5 separate regions of the Homo sapiens genome follow, and all the other regions are linked to region 1. Evidence: promoter capture Hi-C in human tissues and cell types (Jung and others, 2019). All regions are on one chromosome and are shown on one strand. The core of a region is centred on a gene start or on the middle of the fragment in contact, and the rest is flanking DNA. Distances in the headings are between cores, read along the strand shown.

Region 1 (3,613 bases), core at 400-2,899:
AATATTTTAGATAATATCACACATAACTTGGGACCACACATACATGGCACCATAGTATTCTGCACACATATGGCTACCACACGAAAGGAAAGTCTTGTAAAAACTTGGTGTTTACACATTTTTCCCTTTCTGAATGATTTCTGTGAAAATGAATGTATAAGGTTATGTATAAAATCTAGAATCCTTAATGTACCAACACAGATTCTGCAACAAAAGTTGCTTTATTTCACAGTCATGCAAAGTTAAATTTGACTACAACTATGATTTCACTTTAGGAATTACTGCAGATGGATTGAAAACTCATTTAATTATAATGAAGATATTGAAAAAAAACATACTGTATTTGCAGCTATCCACATGAGGGTCCAGGCAGTTTACAGGTTAGACTGGAAAAAATACAACTTCCTTAAAGCTTTGATGTCTTTGCATGGTGGCTTAATAGATAGCTGTACCTTAATTTTACAGAACGGAGAATTTTTAAAATCTGATTAAGAACAATAGTATTTGTACAAAATTCTGCCTGTTTTGTGTAATTAACCGTATTCTGAATCTCTTAATTTCCACCAAGACTTGTGAATCTAAGCTCTACTTGGTAGCCCTCTCAGGCATTTATAACTTGACAAGCGTGTCCAATCAATAAATAGCAACAACAATAATAATACTAAAACATCCTTTCCCTTAAGATAAGGTAAAAGAAGGAAACAGGTGATGGTTTCTTGTTTTGCGATGGGAGCAGGTGAAAAGTTAGAAAACAAAACTGCGAAAAGAAACAAAAATTCCCACCGACCTGCAGACATTTCAATTTATTTTAGAAACTATTTTCTTGTACACATATTCTTAAGTGCATATTTCCTTACCTCTTGCTTAAAGAAAAAATCAACAGAAAGCTTTATTTTCTGGACAAAGATCTATGTCAATTTGAGAATGTTAAAAAAGTGAACTCAAAGCTGTCTCTTTTGAATCACATTATGACATTCGTCAGCATCAATGACTTTCTCTAAACGAGAAAATAAAAAAAAAGTCCAAATAACTTGCCTTTATAAAGATTCCAAGTAAGAGAGACTTGGCAGGTCTGCGGTTGCCATAAAAAAGATTTCCCGAGTCCGGGCAACAACAGCAGACACACTTTTTTAAAGTCCGACAATGCAAAAGCCAAGCAATGAATTTCCCCCCTCCTTTCTTTTTCTTTTTCTTTTTCTTTTTTTTTTTTTTTTTTTTTGCCCCCTCAAGAACAAATTGTTGCCTCCTTTTACATCCATCCTACCAGAAGGGGGACCTTTCCACTTTCAGATGCTCCTCTGCTTTAATTTCTGAAGAGGAAAAAAAGCGAGCAGAAGAGCCCCGAGATCCGCCGTGGAGCTCTAATAACGCAGCTGCGGCGGCGGCGACGGCGGCGGCGCGGGGTGTGCGAGCGGCCGGGCGGGCGGCGCGAGGGGCGGCGGCGCAGGAGCGGGCGGGGCGCGCGGCGCGTGGGAGGCGGCGGCGGCGGCGGCGGCGGCGGGCGGGGCTCGGGGCGCTCGGCCGCCGCCTGGCTCCGGATCCGCGCGCCGCGGCCGGCGCCTCCAGTCCGGGTCTTGGCGGGCCCCCTCCTCCCTCCCGCTCCCCGCGCTCTCGCCTTTTAATCATGCCCCTCTGTCTGTGTGTGAGTGCAGGCAGGCTGACAATGATTTCCTCAGTGATTACGTACAGAGCGAGTCCCTGCGGGTTAGGGGCCCCCTCTGGAGCCATCCTGATGGCTTTGGGGGCCTTGCTTCCATTTTCCATTATTATGTGGACTACCGGAGCGACAGCGCAGTCCAAGACCTTGCAGGTTTGTGATGAGGAGGGAGCACACAGCACACTCCTTCTCCTCCTCCTGCTCCCGGCTCTCCTCCTCCTCCTCCTCCTGCTCTCGCCGCCGCTGCCGCCGCCGCTGCCGCCGCTGCTGCCGCCGCCGCTGCCGAGGCAGCCGTAGACTTTAGAGCCCCGGTCCAGCGCCAGCCGCCGGCGCCGCGCCCCCGCCCAGAGAGGGGCGCCCCGAGCCCGGGCCCCGCACACCCCCTGCACACAAGCAGCCCCGCACACCACCTGGGGGCCGTCGGCTCGGGTGCTTTGGCTTTTTCTTTTTGAAAGAAATTACTTTAGTGTGGGTTAAGAAAAAAAGGGTGGGGGGAAGGGAGAAAAAAAGTATTTTTTTCCCTTTGCTTATTTTCGTGGCCCGTTCGCATCTGCCTCGGATGGTGGGAGATTTTTCTTTCCAAGACCTTTTCATCGCCTTGCAGGGTCGATTTCCCCCCCTCGTCCCCCCAACTACAAAAGAGCACGACTCGCTTTGTAAACAAATCAGTGTTATTTGTTTTTTTCCGGTGGGGGGGGGGGCGGATTTGTTGAAAAGGAAAAGCGGTAAAGAAAAAAAAAATCACCCAGACGCTTTTCTTTTTATTAGTTTTTTTCTATTCGCATGAACTATGTGAATTTTGATTGAGGTGGAAATAGTAACGGATTTTCTCTTTTTAGTGTAGCTGACGGCTCTTCAAACATTGTCTTTGGGGTTTTTTTTTTAGCTTTTTTTCCCTCCTTTCCTTTTTTCTTTTTCCTTTTTTTTTTTTTTTCTTGGAGATTGGGGGTGGGGGTCGAAGGCTGGGAAAGTTTGGTGCAGCAGCCGCCGCCGCCGCCGCCGCCGTCGTGCAGAGCGCGGAGCTCGGGCAGCCGCGAGCCCCGCGCGCGAGCGCGAGCCGGAGCCGGAGCGAGGAGCGGAGCGCGGAGCGAGGGCGCGAGGGAGGCCGAGCGGAGGGCGCGAGGCGCCGCGGCCCGAGGGGCGCGCGGCCACGAGGAAGTATAGTTTCTTTCAGGGCTGAATTGAAACAACTTCAGCTGTTTGCTTTTAGGATGTCTCGCCGCAAGCAAGCGAAACCGAGATCCCTCAAAGGTAAGGAGGAACCCCCTGCTCCCCGCTTTCCCCCATCCGCGAGTGTCACTGTGGGTAGCGGAGCGAGGGCTGCGTGGCTGCGAGGCGTGTGCGCGCGTGAGTGTGAGTGTGAGTGCGGGGGCGCGCGCGCTCCCCTCCCCGCTGAGCCCCTAGGTGGAGTGAGGGTGAGGTGTCGGGGTGGGGGGAGACGAAGACGGGAGGAGGATCCCCGAATGGGGCGGCGGTAGAAAGTGGGCGAGAAAAGACAACAACAACCGAAAAAAAAAAAGAGAGAGAGAGAGAAAGAAACGAAATTATCCGGAGAGGGAGGAAAAAAAAATATCCCGTCTGAGATCTACATCTGGGCTGGAGGAAAAAGTTTCTGTTGTGTGTTTTCGCAAAGAATAAATATGCAAAACCGTGCGGTGCTTCTTTTTTCCTTTTCTTTGGAAGAAGAAAAAAGTCATCTCGGAGGTGGGGAGCAGCCCCCGCTCGTGACAAACGTGGCCCGGGGTCCCGGCCGCCGCCTCCCGCCCGCCCGCGTCCTGCTTGGGTCCTCTCCGCACGTCGCCGGAGTAAACAGACCCCGGCCGCCGGCCGCGGGCACCGGACCCCGGCTCGGGCCTCAGAGCACCCCTCTTGGCCATTCCCAGAAGTTGACCGCCCCTCGCCCCTACTTCTCCCCGCCGCCCCTGGAGTCCTTTGCGTTTCGCGGTGGGGTCCAGC
Region 2 (3,613 bases), core at 488-2,987, 1.8 Mb before region 1:
TGCCATTTCATTGAGCTATTTTAATTAATTCAAAAATTAATTCATAAATGCCTAAATCTATGATTTCCCATAAGCTGAAATATGAAAACTTTCCAAGGTAATTGCATTAGGACACATTCCTCCTTGGAAATTTTATTCTTAGATGTTACCATGTGTATTAAGAAATGTATTGAAGAATAGACTTTAGCAAGAGATTGTATCTTGAACTTGTTTATTTTTACCTTAGTAATTAAGGTTCAGGTTACATTCACAATTATTAGCCAGAAATAGCATCTTTGTTTTCCCTCTAAAACAAGGCAGTCTTTCAAGTTCTAAGTTCCACTGTTTTACCCCTCACAAGTACAAGATATAAATATCTAATAGATACTTTCCTTCTTTTCTAAATATTAGGAGATAATTTAAAAACATTTTTATTACAAGAGGGGAAAAAGACTTTTAAATAGACCAAATATCCAAATGTTATTTAGAATAGCTATATGTAGACATAGATTCAGATGTAAATAACTAGCTAAATAAAAGCATAAGCTTAATAATACTAAGCTGAATTGGTTTCATTATCAGCTCACTTTAAGTATTAACATTAGAAATAATATTTGTAGCACACTGCTAATATTATACTTATTTTATGATGCTACTGAGTATAAATTTTCTTTTACACTAATTTTTCATCACAGGTATTAGTCTTCAAAAATCATTATTTACCTTTATTTGAAAAAAAATCCTCCCATTAAGGACAACACATTTTGAACAGTCAACAAAATCCCTTCCCTCAAAAAGGCTAAGTCAGTCACCATGCTCTGTGTCCCTCTGGGCTGAAATGATATTAGATTTAGTGAGGTGAGCCGTATATCACAAGTACTCCCAGTGCTGGACGAGGAAATATTTCATTGCATGGGATTGGAGGTGGATTTAGAATTACTCTGTGCCCTCAAATTCTATATTTTTTCTTAGGATACATCATTGACATATTCTCTATTTCATCAAATTTCTTACCAGCTTGCCTGTTGCCTGCATTCTCTCTCTCTTTCAAGTACACGTACACACACACACACACACACACACACACACACGCACATGCACACCATTGATAGAAATCACAAAGCCATTTTTTCTTTTTCCTTTTATTCACTCCCAGCAGATCTTTCTTTTTCCTGTAAGCTTACCACTTCTAAATTTAATATGTGTTTTGAGCTCATTATTTAAAGGAATCACATCTTGCTAATCACATCCAAGGCACCGGAACATAGTGTCTATACTGACTGAACAGGCCAAGCTTCGTGAGTTAATTAATAAAATATTTGGTAAGAAACGGTCCATCATTATCTTATCACTTGAGATGACAATGTTGAAACTTACAGGATGGAAGGCATCTCATTAATTCAGACCATTTCAAATCAATTTTATTTTGACTTACAGTCTTGAAATAACATATCATTATCTTTGGCCATATCAAAAACTGAACCCAGTTGGAAAATATTTATATGTCCAAATATTGGTTTAGAGGAAAGTATAGCATTTTTTTGGTAAATTGTTCACACAGAATTTTCCCTATTCCAACCACCTATCAAAAACCATCAAAGATATAAAATATAATTTCTTTCTACAGAAGCACATTTATATTTCCACATTTTATCTATTTCCAATTTAGGTTTTGCTATATATAAACATTATCTTATAAAAGATTTCATTGTTTAGGATTTAGAGGTAACTGTTAGGAAAGGTTTTGTTTTATATTGTTTCAAAAGGAAATTTATACTTGCTTAGTTTAAGAAATTACATGCATAACTTCCCAAGCAACTTTGATTTTCCTAAAATAACTGCAAGCATTTCTTATTCAATCAACCAATCAATATATATTTATTGACCTGCTCTATTTACCAAGACTATTAGGTGCTGACCATTCTAAGTTATTTGACCTTGAATTATTGCTTTACTGGGGCAGCTGATATATAATAATAATGGCAACACATCTTGTTTCATTTTTATTTACTTACAATTATCTCTTAGTTTTTCTGTTTTACCAATATTATTTTTCATACAATTTAAAATTTATAATTCTTTAGGAGTCATAGTTCTTCCTCATTTACTATTAATCCTATGCTCTTTCCATAAGGCATTTTTCCTTTTGCATTCTGCTTTTTCTCCCCAATATTCTTCTGAACACTTAATTTGTGCTTTAGTTATAGATATTTGGTCCTTGATTTGTTCTTGATTTTTAAGAAAATAATTCCTTCCTTAAAAAAGGTTAGAGACAGAGTCAAATCTTTTTTTAATTATGTCTTCGTCACACAATAATTTTGATCAACCCCAAATCATAAAATTTGCTATACCATGCTTGCTATGGCAGGAGGTAAATCATTATGTTTCCAGATCTCTCCTTGACTGGAAAATCTTAATGCTTTCTCCTTTTTCCTGTTTATTCCTGATGTTACAATGATTTCTTCTTAAATTTTAGAAAGGAATTTCTACTTTGTACAATGCCACATTCTGTATCCTATAGATCGACTTCTGGTAATCAGGCCTTTGTTTCTCTCTTGTATTCACATTTTTTTATTGTCAATTTCTTCTACTGAAGAAATCAGCCTTTTATTTCCTGATTAGAATTCACTTTAAATGTCACTACACAGATAAATCAATATGTGAAGGTGAAAATGACTTGAAGAGCTTTGTCAAGGTAAGTGTTCTATATCAGACGTTATGGGATTTTTGAAACCAGAAGGATCCTTAGGGCTTATGGAGTTCAATGACCTCATGCACTGCAGATGAGGAAACTGAGCCCAGGAAGAGAAGACTTGCCCAACTTAACGTGAACAAATCCTGTTCTCCAAGACTCTTTCTATTTCATAGCACTAATGCAAGGAAGCTTTCTAAAAGTGATTTTAAATTTTTAATAGTTGTTTTTATTTTTCTTCCCAGCAATATCTGGATACGGTGGGTTTTATCTTCTCTTTCAAGAGTTCTATTACTCTTTTCTTCTGGTTCAGTGGGCCGGCTTGTGTTCACTTGACCAGGAATCAACATAAATCGCATTCTATCATTTTTTTCTAGTTTTACTCGTATGCTGCAAAATAAAAGCAAGATAAGATAAAGGGAAACTACTGTAGCTACTGGACTATCCTCTATTGACTTGTGTAAAAATATCTCTTCCCAGATAAATAAAACCCTGCTTTCCCTCAAAAAATAGTTGGAGGCATAAATAAGAAGGTTCAGAGGTATTTGCAACACCCACATGACCTGGCATATTGTGCTAAATGCATTTCTGCTGAATTTTGACTTTGGCCATTAATTAAGCCAAGTCATCATTAACACCGGCATAATTAGAGAAAAGCATAAACTCAAAAATAGCAAGAAGTATCCCTTAGCAGTGTCATGCTGATACCTTAAATTAGTTTTGTTTTGTTTTGTTTTGTTTTTGTTTGTTTGTTTGTTTTTGGTACATAAGGAAACCAGGAAAATATCCTTTCTTACTCTTTTCCTACCTCTCTACCCCAGGTCACCTTACACACATTTTTCATCTCTATGAGCAGCTCACTGAAGTCATTCTTTATACTACTAGTTATACTTTCAAAGTTAAGTTTAACTTTATTGTTGTGCTTAGCCTAGCGGTATCAGC
Region 3 (3,613 bases), core at 775-3,274, 1.2 Mb after region 1:
GTCAGCTGTAGTGTTGGTGTTATGAATTTGTTCATGAAGGTGACTAGCAATCTGTCTAGTTTACGTCCAAATCGAGACTAACCATTCTTTTAAAAGATAGGAGATGATGTTATGTTGGATTGCACCTGCTATGTTCTGAAAGATACTCTGTTTCTCTAGAATGCGGTTTTACTTTTATGTTTAGGCACATAACTTCTTGTACAAGTAAATGCTTATGCTGAATCATAAATAAAATACAACAAATAAACATAGAGCTGTTTGGGTTGAAAGGGTTCCATAGAATGTTCTGAATCATATCTCTAGAACTTACTGATTCAAAGCATAGAGAGAGAGCTTCAGGGGAAGTCGTGTTTTTGGAAACTTCTTTCTGCTGAGGTTCATAGGAGACAAATGTTCTGAAAGAACATTTTTATTAATGTGGATTGAAAGGAGATCACCTAGCTTTTGGAAATATTGTTCTTTGGGCACTGTCTGCTGTAGGACCTTCTCTCTTAGGCAGCAGACACAATCAAGGTATAAGCACTAAGCGACAGTAAAGATTAAAAATGAGGAGTCTTGAGAGAGAAATACAAATATTACCACTTTTTTTTTTTTTTTTTGAGTCGGAGTCTCACTTTGTTGCCCAGGCTGGAATGCAGTGGTGCAGTCTCGGCTCACTGCAGTCTCCACCTCCCGGGTTCAAGTGATTCTCCTGCCTCAGCCTCCCGAGTAGCTGGGACTACAGGTGCATGCCACCATGCCCAGCTAATTTTTTGTACTTTTAGCAGAGATGGGGTTTCACCATGTTGGCCAGACTGGTCTCGAACTCATGACCTCAGTTGATCCACCCACCCTGGCTTCCAAAAGTGCTGGGATTACAGGCATGAGCCACCGCGCCCAGCCTGCATGTTTCTGATTCTATCACATTAATCCAAATACTTCACTTCGTGTCCTTTTTGTGGGGGTGAAACTGAGTTCTAGAAGCCATGTGTATACCTTCAGCTATCATCTCTCTTCCCTTACCTCCATTTACCCAGCTTCTTAATTTGTTAATAAGTCCTAAGAGTGGAAGAGGAAATTTGATACTGAGCCTTAGCTCTTCCTGCTCTCTGTTGTTGTGAGGAGCGTGCCAGGACAGAGTGCGGGGTGTAAGCATCCTGCGGGTGACAGCCCCACAATTCCACACTCAACCAGAGTCCTCATCCCATTTTTTCCGTAACAATTAATGCCCCAGATTTGTATGCTATGATGATATCATTTTATGGTGTAATGCTATTATTATTCAAAATATGTGGCTTTTCTAAATTCACAGTACATATTCTTATCTGCCAGATATGGTCTAGGTCTCACTCTGTCTTAGGAAGGAAAGGAAGAGGTTCTTCTCCATGCATTTGTCATCTTGGCCCCCCGTGTCTGCAGCCCCATCCCCAGCCGGGCTCACTCTGCCCCATCTCCTCCACTCCCATGCACCTGCACGTTGTACTTTACCTTTTTCCAAATAGCATTTAGCCACTTTGATTTCCAATACTGATGACATCCTTCTTTTCTTCTCCCAGTCTGTTTTGAGCAGGATTATGTTATCAAAATGTCAGATTATACAATGTGAAATGAATACTTTACCTAACTGGAATTCAACCCTAAATCTGTTTGTGGTTGAAGCTTTTACCAAACAAACAAATCTCCGGCTCCTGAGAACTAATCCTGACACTGCTTAGTCATTTGAAGCCTTTGCTTATTTCTTTCTGCTTGTTTCCCCTTTGTCACAGGACTCTTTAATCCGAAAGCCTCATGTCCTGTGTGTACCCTGTTTCCGTCCTCCTCTTCTCCTCCATCCCTTTGCTCCAGTGGCTTTCTCAGCAGGGCTCAGCCAGAGGTTAGGTCGTTGGTGTTCATGCTCAGTGACTTAGGCAACCAGCCCCAGGACCTCAGCACAAAATTTGAGGAGGTACTTGAGCTCAAGGCCATGTGCGTGCTGCCCTTGTGTGTGTTCAAATGTCTTGGAGTAATAGAATAGTCCTGGATTATTGCAAGAGGTGACAAAGGTCTGGTACATCAGGAATACCGACTACTTAAAGTGAAAGAAAAGTGTTGTATCATTCTTTTAAAGGTAGCTAGTGGAATCCACATACCATCGAGTTTTGATTGCCACTGTCATTCTGTTAAATAAATACATGAGCAAGCTATTCTTCAGTCATTGAAAAGCTTATACTTCTATGTCTCCTTTAATTTGTATTTCCATTTTATCCTTCCTATAGGATAACTCAGTTAACTTCGTGTCCTTTTTGTAGGGGTGAAACTGAGTTCCAGAAGCCATGTGCATACCTTCAGCTATCATCTCTCTTCCATTAGCTCCATTTACCGAGTTAACTCAATTGTTTTAATCTCTGAGGGTCTTTTATCGATTACTTCATCATACTTCATTACTGCAGAAATATGTATAAAAATTAAAATTTAAAAAGCTATATTCTATAAGACTTTAGTACTAAAGGTTTCTTTGCATTGTTATAAATGTTAGTATTTGATTACAATTGTAAACATTATAAAATTTATGAAAATATTAACAAAGGTAAAATGTTATGAGTGAAAATTTTTTTCAATTGGTTTTAGATATCTGAGATGAATATCACTTGCTGCTAGAATGAGACAGGATCTTCAGTAACAGTTATGTTCTTGTTTTTGAATAGATGCCAGGATTGAGAGCTTTGCTCATATTAATAGACAGATGGGAGTAGGAGTTTTTTGGGTTTTTAAAAAAATGTCCAGTAATGTCATTCAGTTCTTTGACCCCCTTCTCCACTAGATGCCAAAAGTCAGATTATATTACAGAATTTTTGTGTGTGTGATTTATAAGCTAACAACTCAATTAGGACTCCCTTCAGTGTTACTAAAAACACAACTTTGAAAAACTCTAACTTGCACAAGGTTTTGTTACCTTTCATTAGTCATTGGCTTCTTGGCCTCTGGGAAATACACCAGAGAAGCTTTTCCCAAGCTCTCCGATCTCAATTCATTGAACTGTTTTTATCACTCAGTTGTACCTTGCAATACTGAGAAAGGGTTGAGAAAATTGGAATAATTTTCACTGAAGTAAACCTTTGCCAGTATGTTTTTGATAAAATGCTTTTATCTCACCATGAATCTTAAGATGTTTCCCACAAACTGAAGGTTTAGCTCATTCATTCCAGTACAGAATGTCTGCTACATAGCCATAGGGCCAGACCTCATGCCCAGACATATCACTGGGTCAGAGTAACTGTCAGAAGGGATGAGATATTATTTCTGGAATCAGATAAACATGTGATACCCTATATGCCACCATGACAACAGTGCTATTCTTGCATTCCAACTCTAAGATAGATGCGGAGCTAGATAAGGTTTGGAGCTTTGCCAAATCTGGCATGTTATAAATACCAACTAGAGCGACAGAGGATAGAAGGAGCAAGATAGTTAAACAAAATTTGGTATCTCTACCCCCACACTCTACAGTGGTCTAAGATCAGAATGTTTCAACCTGGGGAGAAATGGCTTGAAGACCCTATTTCTCATGTCGTGTCTTTCTCTTAACTGAAACAGGACGTCAAGGAGCCCTAATGTAAGTTAATGGTTCTTGAGTAAAAGAGGCTTTGCTGGTAAC
Region 4 (3,613 bases), core at 728-3,227, 1.1 Mb after region 1:
TCTCAACCTCTGGTAACTAGCCTTCTCCTCTCTATCTCCATGTGTTCAATTGTTTTGATTTGTAATTCCCACAAATAAGTGAGAACATGCAATGTTTGTCTTTCTGTGCCTGGCTTATTTCATTTAACATAATGACAACATCCAGTTCCATCCATGTTGTTGCAAATGATAGGATCTTGTTCTTTTTTTTATGGCTGAATGGTATTCCATTGTGTGTTAAGTACCACATTTTCTTTATCCATCTGTTGATGGACACGTAGGTTGCTTCCAAATCTTGGCTATTGTGAACAGTGCCACAGCAAACATGGGAGTGCAGATATCTCTTCCGTATACTGCTTTTCCTTTTTTTGGGAATATACCTAGCAGTGGGATTGCTGGGTCGTATGGGGTAGCTTTATGTTTAGTTTTTTGAGAAACCTCCAAACTGTTCTTCATAGTGGTTGCACTAATTTACATTCTCACCAACAGTGTTCCCCTTTCTCCACATCCTTGCCAGCATTTGTTACTGCCTGTCTTTTGGAGATAAGCCATTTTAACTGGGATGAGATGATACCTCATCGTAGTTTGATTTGCATTTCTCTAATCAGTGATGTTGAGCGCCTTTTCATATGCCTGTTTTCCATTTGTATGTCTTTTGAGAAATATCTGTTCAAATCTTTGACTCATGTTTTAATAGCATTATTGGATTTTTTTCCTGTGGAGTTGTTTGAGCTCCTTATATATTCTGTATATTCATCCCTTGTCAGATGGGTAGTTTGCAAATATTTTTTATAATTTTGTGGGTTGTCTCTTCATTTTGTTGATTGTATCCTTTGCTGTGCAGAAGCTTTTTAACTTGATGTGTTTCCATTTGTCCATTTTTTCTTTGGTTGTCTGTGCTTGTGGGGTATTACTAAGAAATATTTGCCCAGACCAATGTCCTGGAGAGTTTCCCTAGTGTTTCCTTGTAGTAGTTTCATAGTCTGAGGTCTTAGATTTAAGTCCTTAATCCATCTTGATTTGATTTTTGTATATGGCAAGAGATAGGGGTCTAGTTTCTTTCTTTTGCATATGGATATCCAGTTTTTCCAGTACAACTTATTGAAGAGACTGTCTTTTCTCCAATATATGTTCTTGGTACCTTTACTGAAAATTAGTTCACTGTGAGTGTGAGGATGTGTTTCTGGGTTCTGTATTCCGTTCCATTGGTCTATGTGTCTGTTTTTATGCCAGTACCATGCTGTTTTGGTTACTGTAGCTCTGTACTGTAATTTGAAGTCAGGTAATATGATTCCTCCAGTTTAGTTCTTTTTGCTCAGGATACTTTTGGCTATTTTGGGTCCCCTGTGGTTCCACATAAATTCTAAAATTGTTTTTTTCTATTTCTGTGAAGATTGTCACTGGCATTTTGATAGGGATAGCATTGAATCTGTTGATTGCTTTGAATAGTATGGACATTTTAACAGTACTCATTTTCCCAGTCCATGAACATGGAATATCTTTCCTTTTTTTTTTTTTTTTTTTTTTTTTTTGCATCCTCTTCAGTTCTTTCATCAGCGTTTTATAGTTTTCACCATAGAGATCTTTCACTTCTTTGGTTAACTTAATTCCTAGGTATTTAATTTTATGTGTGGCTATTGTAAATGGGATTACTTTTTAAGTTTCTTTTTCAGATATTCACTTTTGGCATGTAGAAATGCTACTGATTTTTGTATGTTGATCTTGTATCCTGCAACTTTACTGAATTTATCAGCTCTAATAGTTTTTTGGTGTAGTCTCTAGGTTTTTCCAAACAAAAGTTCATATCATCTGCAAACAAGGATAATTTGACTTCTTCCTTTCCAATTTGGATACCTTTATTTCTTTCTATTGTCTGATTGCTCTAGCTAGGACTAACAGTACCATGTTGTATAATAGTGGTGAAAGTGAACGTTTGTTGTGTTCCATATCTTAAAGGAAAGTCTTTCAGTTTTTCCTCATTTAGTATGATACTAGCTGTGGGTCTTTCATGGCTTTTATTATGTTGAGGTGTGTTCCTTTTATACCAGTTTTTTGAGGGTTTTTGTCATAAAGGGATGTTGAATTTTATCAAATACATTTTCAGCATCAGTTGAAATGGTCATATGGTTTTTTTCATCAGCTCTGTTGATATGATGTATGACACTGGTTGATTTGCATATGTTGTACCATCCCTGGGATAAATCCCACTTGTTTATGATGAATGATCTTTTTAACATATTGTTGAATTCAGTTTGCTAGTATTTTGTCAAGGATTTATGCATCAGTATTCATCAGAGAATGAATATTGGCCTGTAGTTTTCTTTTTGTGATGTGTCTTTGGTTTTGATATCAACATGTGGATTCAAAAATCTGAGACAGGTCTCAGTTAATTTAGAAAGTTTTACCAGGCATGGTAGCTCACGCCTGTAATCTCAGCACTTTGGGAGGCTGAGGCGGGCGGGTCACTTGAGGCTAGGAGTTCGAGACCAGCCTGGCCAACATGGCAAAACCCCGTCTCTACTAAAAATACAAAAATCAGCCAGGTGTGGTGGCGCACGCCTGTAATCCCAACTACTTGGGGGGCTGAGGCAGGAGAATCACTTGAACCCAACTACTTGGGGAGTTGGGGAATCACTCCCAACTACTTGGGAGGCAGAAGCTGCAGTGAGCAGAGAGCGCACCACTGCACTCCAGCCTGGGCGAGAGAGCGAGACTCCATCTCAAAAAAAAAAAAAAAAAATTAGAAAGTTTATTTTGACAAATTTGAGGATGTGCCTCAGGAAGTTCTGACAACATGTGTCTGAAGGTGGTCAGAGCACAGTTTGGTTTTATACATTTTAGGGAGACTTGAGACATCAATCAACATATGTAAGATGAACATTGGTTCGGTCTGGAAAGGTGGGAAGACTGGAAGGAGGGAAGAGGCTTCCAGGTCATAGGTAGATAAGAGACAAATGGTTTCATTCTTTTGAGTTTGTGATTAGCCTCTCCAAAGGAGACAATCAATTATGCATTTATCTTAGTGAGGAGAGGGGACACTTTGAATAGAGTGGGAGGCAGGCTGGCCCTAAGCAGTTCCCAGCTTGACTTTTCCCCTTAGTTTAGTAATTTGGGGGCCCCAAGATTTATTTTCCTTTCACGGCTGTAATGCAATAAGTTTGGAAGTATTCCCTTCTCTATTTTGTAGAATAGTTTGAGTACGATTGATATTAGTTCTCCTTTAAATGTTTGGTAGAATTCAGCAGTGAAGCCTTCAGGTCCCAGGCTTTTCTTTACTGGGAGACTTTTTGTTATGGCTTTTATCTAGATACTTGTTATTGATCTATTCAGGTTTTCAGTTTCTTCATGGTTCAATCTTGGTGTAGGTTTATGTGTCTTAAGAATTTATCCATTTCCTCTAGATTTTCCAATTTATTGCCACATAGTTTCTCATAGTAGCCACTAATGATCCTTTGGATTTCTGTGGTATCTGTTGTAATGTTTCCATTTTCATCCCTGATTTTATTTATTTAGGTTTTCCCCCGTTTTTTCTTTGTTAGTCTGGCTAAAGGTTTGTCAATTTTGTTTATCTTTTCAAAAAACCATCTTTTTGTTTCATTGATCTTTCTATTTTCCTCACTTCAGTTTCATTTAT
Region 5 (3,613 bases), core at 692-3,191, 1.1 Mb after region 1:
GGATGATTGTATTCAAGGTAGTCATTTTAATTTGAACAAAAAATAGATTTCTATTTTTATGTCTTTCAGCATGACCTCTTTTGATATTTTTCAAGTTATAGTTTTATGGAGTAGTTTTTAGAAGGTTAGTTGATTTTTATGTGCAAACATTTTTTCCCTGTTTTGAAAAGAGAGTACTGATTTTCATTGAAGCATTTATATAATTCCAATCTGATATGAAAGTCCATTTTGTTTATTTATTTTTTGAGACAGAGTCTTGCTCTGTCACCCAGGCTGGAGTGCAGTGGCGCGATCTTGGCTCACTGCAGCCTCTGCCTCCTGGGTTCAAGTGATTCTCTTGCCTCAGCCTCCTGGGTAGCTGGGATTACAGGCACACGCCATGATGGCCGGCTAATTTTTGTATTTGTAGTGGAGATGGGGTTTCACCATGTTAGCCAGGCTGGTCTCGAATTCCTGACCTCAGGTGATCTGCACGCCTCGGCCTCCCAAAGTGCTGGGATTACAGGTATCAACCACCGCGCCCAGCCTTGAAAGTCCATTTTAAAATGGACTTCAATCATTTAGGTTAGATCAGGTCTTTCATGTATATAGTCATTATGTATTGCATTTTTTTACACCACAAAAGATAAATCATCCCATTTTGTTATTTTCTGTATTTTCTCTGATCTTTAGCTTTGTCACTAGATTTTGTAGTTTTTGGACTATTTAGTCTCTCTCCTGTTTGTGTTTAATTATTAAAAAAAGCCACATACATATTCAAGGTAGCACCATTACCAGAAGGGTAAGGATGGGGAAATAAAATGCCTTCATCCAGTTTTTTTCTTTTAAATACTTGTCCCAAATGATGGAAATATTTCAGTTAAATGTTGAAAAACAGGCAAAATATATTTTCTTGTGCCACAAGTAAAAAACAAAATGTAGTTAAAAATTACTTATTTCTCAATCTGCCCTAATCAACCAACCTATAGTAATATAAATGAAAAAGTTTTCATTTCACATTTTTAAACTAAAGGACCATAATTCTTTTAAGGTAAAATATAATAAGTGAAGCCATTTGGATTCAGATTATATTTTATATTAAAAGAATTATGGTAGCAAGATGTGGAATAAGATATTTTATTAGTTTCCTTATTCATTTAATAAATATTTGAGAGGTTTTATTTTGGCAAAGCTTGGTGTTTGGATGGGGGTAAGGAGGTTTAGAGTTTACAGAGGGTCACAGAGAGACAACATACATTCAATGCCTCATGCCCCTATAACAAGTGGGTGTGGCCGCTGTTGGAGTCCAGGAGCAGCTGCTGTCATGTCCCATGGTGATATTTTGTCGTCGTTGTTGTTTTTAGAGACAGGGTCTTTCTCTGTCGCACAGGCTGAAGTGCAGTGGTGTGGTCATAGCTCATTGCAACCTTGAACTCAAGTGATCCTCCTGCCTTGGCCTCCCAAAGTGTTGGCATTACAGGCATGAGCCACTGCACCCATTCTCCACAGTGATATTTAAGGAAGGCTTCCTGGGGGAGGATGGCATTTGAACTAGGCCTTGAAAGAAAATAGTTTTTTTTGTCAAGTAGGGAAACTTCTGAATATGGATAATTATTGTTTCCAATATTCAAGTAACATGTCAATATTCAGCATTCAACATCCAATATTCACCAATATTTTGAAGACTGTTTTTAGGTAAACAAACATTTCCAGGAGAACAATCTGGCTGAAACAAATTTAGTTTATTGAGCATCTTAAATGTTAGGCTAAGGAAATGTGGACTTTTTTTTTTTTACACTAGGATAACAGTGGAGGTTGTCTGTACAAGGGATTAATTTGTTCACATAAAGAAACAAGTGTTTTCCCACTATTTTAAAAACTTACCCAATTAAAAATTGTTCAGCGTAATCATGAAAAATGACAGATTGTGAGCTTTTTATGTCTCTAAAGTTAAGCTTTTCCAATATGATCTTCTCACAGCTTTCATGACTTTAAAAACGTTTTTAGTACGAAAAATAACTTTTTTCCTGAAAATCAACAGCATCAGATTCTTACAGCAGGCCAAATAAGGCAACATACTGGCCTTTTTGCGTTTATTCATGACAGTTTAGTCTCTAAATATTAACCAGCTAAAACGTATTTGCAGTGATTCCCAGTTGGTCACTTTTCTAGAAGCTTAGCAATTTTAATTTTTTTTTTATGTAACATTATGTAAACATAATTCTATAAGAAGCATGCCAGTGTGAGTTGAATGGACCCTGATGTGCTACACTGCAGTGTGGCATACGGCAAGGTTCGGCAATTCTTAAACTGTTCCGCTGTGGAAGTTCATTTCAAAAATCTTGTTTTAACATTAGCTTGTCAAAGAAATGAAGTAACATTTGACTCTTTTGGACAAAAGAATTCGACGCTCTCTCAATGGTGGATTCTTATGAAAACTTCTTTATATATATATATACACACACATATATATATATTTGGAATATTTTTTGAAACCTTGCAGAACCAGTATTTTCAAACACTTGTAAGTATTCCTAAGCATGTATTTGGACCATTAATGTTGCTTCATGGTAACAAGTATCTAAAGTTTATGAAATATCTAAAACAGACAAAAACAGGATGATTAAGCTTATGATGGTATTAATAAAAGAACTATATCTATGAATGGTTATGCTTCTATCTTCCTGCCATTTATGCCCTGAAAGTGGAAAATTACTAGATTACTCAGAAAATTTATGGAAGGGATAGGCTGTGTCTGTTTCTCCTGGTACATCTCCTCAGTCCTCGGTCCACAGTTCGTGTTGAGACATCTGTTCAGGCACTATTTAAGTCATATGGCACCTAGCATATGGTAGTCTCTTTTGCTATTTAGCAACTAAGTAGAGAATAAATCTTCACAATGTGTATCAGAGGTTCAAAATGAAAAATAAAGTCTGTAAAGTCAAATTTGTTTTAGAATATGGTAGTTTTCAATTAGTTGGGCTTTATTAAAGAAGCTAACAAGAGAAAACTATTCTGTAAGATGTATTTTGTAAGATGTAAACTGTGGTAAAATATAATTTGGCCTTCATATCCATATGTGTGTGTGTGTGTGTCTGTGTGTGTGTGTATATATATACATATATATATATATATATATATTTTTTTTTTTTTTTTTTGAGATGGAGTCTTGCTCTGTCTCCCAGGCTGGAGTGCTGTGGTGCCATCTCCGCTTACTGCAACCTCCACGTCCCAGGTTGAAGTGATTCTCCTGCCTCAGTCTCCCGAGTAGCTGGGATTACAGGCGCCAGCCACCATGCCCAGCTAATTTTTGTATTTTTAGTAGAGATGGGGTTTCACCATGTTGGCCATACTGGTCTTGAACAGTAGTATAGAAAACTTGAACTCCTGGGCTCAAGCAGTCCTCCTGCCTCAGCCTCCCAAGTAGCTGAGACTACAGGTGCACACCACCATGCCCAGCTAATTTTTAAATTTTTTGTAGAGATGAAGTCTTGCTTTTTTGCTCAGGCTGGTCTTGAACTCCTGGCCTCAAGTGATCCTTTTACCTTGGCCTCTCAAAGTGCGAGGATTACACACATAAGCCACCATGCCTCGCCCTAGCTGTAATCTTGTGTCTTTTAACAAATCTTGTTCT

What was found. The method cuts DNA at HindIII sites, captures the fragments that hold promoters and counts their contacts. A contact is called where the count stands out against the background at its distance.
Region 2: a contact is called between a fragment that was not itself captured here and the fragment with the promoter of ZNF521 in region 1, in 1 of the 25 tissues and cell types used here (aorta).
Region 3: a contact is called between a fragment that was not itself captured here and the fragment with the promoter of ZNF521 in region 1, in 1 of the 25 tissues and cell types used here (hippocampus).
Region 4: a contact is called between a fragment that was not itself captured here and the fragment with the promoter of ZNF521 in region 1, in 1 of the 25 tissues and cell types used here (dorsolateral prefrontal cortex).
Region 5: a fragment that was not itself captured here is called in contact with the fragment with the promoter of ZNF521 in region 1 in 1 of the 25 tissues and cell types used here (dorsolateral prefrontal cortex).

What each region holds. Positions count from the first base shown.
Region 1 is chr18:25,350,202-25,353,814 of GRCh38, reverse strand. It overlaps ZNF521 (zinc finger protein 521), which reads left to right and starts at 1,649. Exons shown (of 8, transcript NM_015461.3): 1 at 1,649-1,810; 2 at 2,868-2,908. The coding sequence starts at 2,869. RefSeq lists a silencer at 1,554-1,623. The HindIII fragment of the contact is 6,455 bases long and covers 651-3,613 here.
Region 2 is chr18:27,188,191-27,191,803 of GRCh38, reverse strand. No RefSeq gene overlaps it. Among named protein-coding and RNA genes, the nearest start is that of CHST9, 4.7 kb to the right of the region's middle. The HindIII fragment of the contact is 3,160 bases long and covers 158-3,317 here.
Region 3 is chr18:24,190,474-24,194,086 of GRCh38, reverse strand. The region is part of intron 18 of OSBPL1A (oxysterol binding protein like 1A); the gene reads left to right. Among named protein-coding and RNA genes, the nearest start is that of CABYR, 53 kb to the right of the region's middle. The HindIII fragment of the contact is 4,946 bases long and covers 1-3,613 here.
Region 4 is chr18:24,254,863-24,258,475 of GRCh38, reverse strand. The region is part of intron 15 of OSBPL1A (oxysterol binding protein like 1A); the gene reads left to right. Among named protein-coding and RNA genes, the nearest start is that of MIR320C2, 65 kb to the left of the region's middle. The HindIII fragment of the contact is 5,578 bases long and covers 1-3,613 here.
Region 5 is chr18:24,282,789-24,286,401 of GRCh38, reverse strand. All of the region lies in intron 14 of OSBPL1A (oxysterol binding protein like 1A), which reads left to right. Among named protein-coding and RNA genes, the nearest start is that of MIR320C2, 37 kb to the left of the region's middle. The HindIII fragment of the contact is 4,224 bases long and covers 1-3,613 here.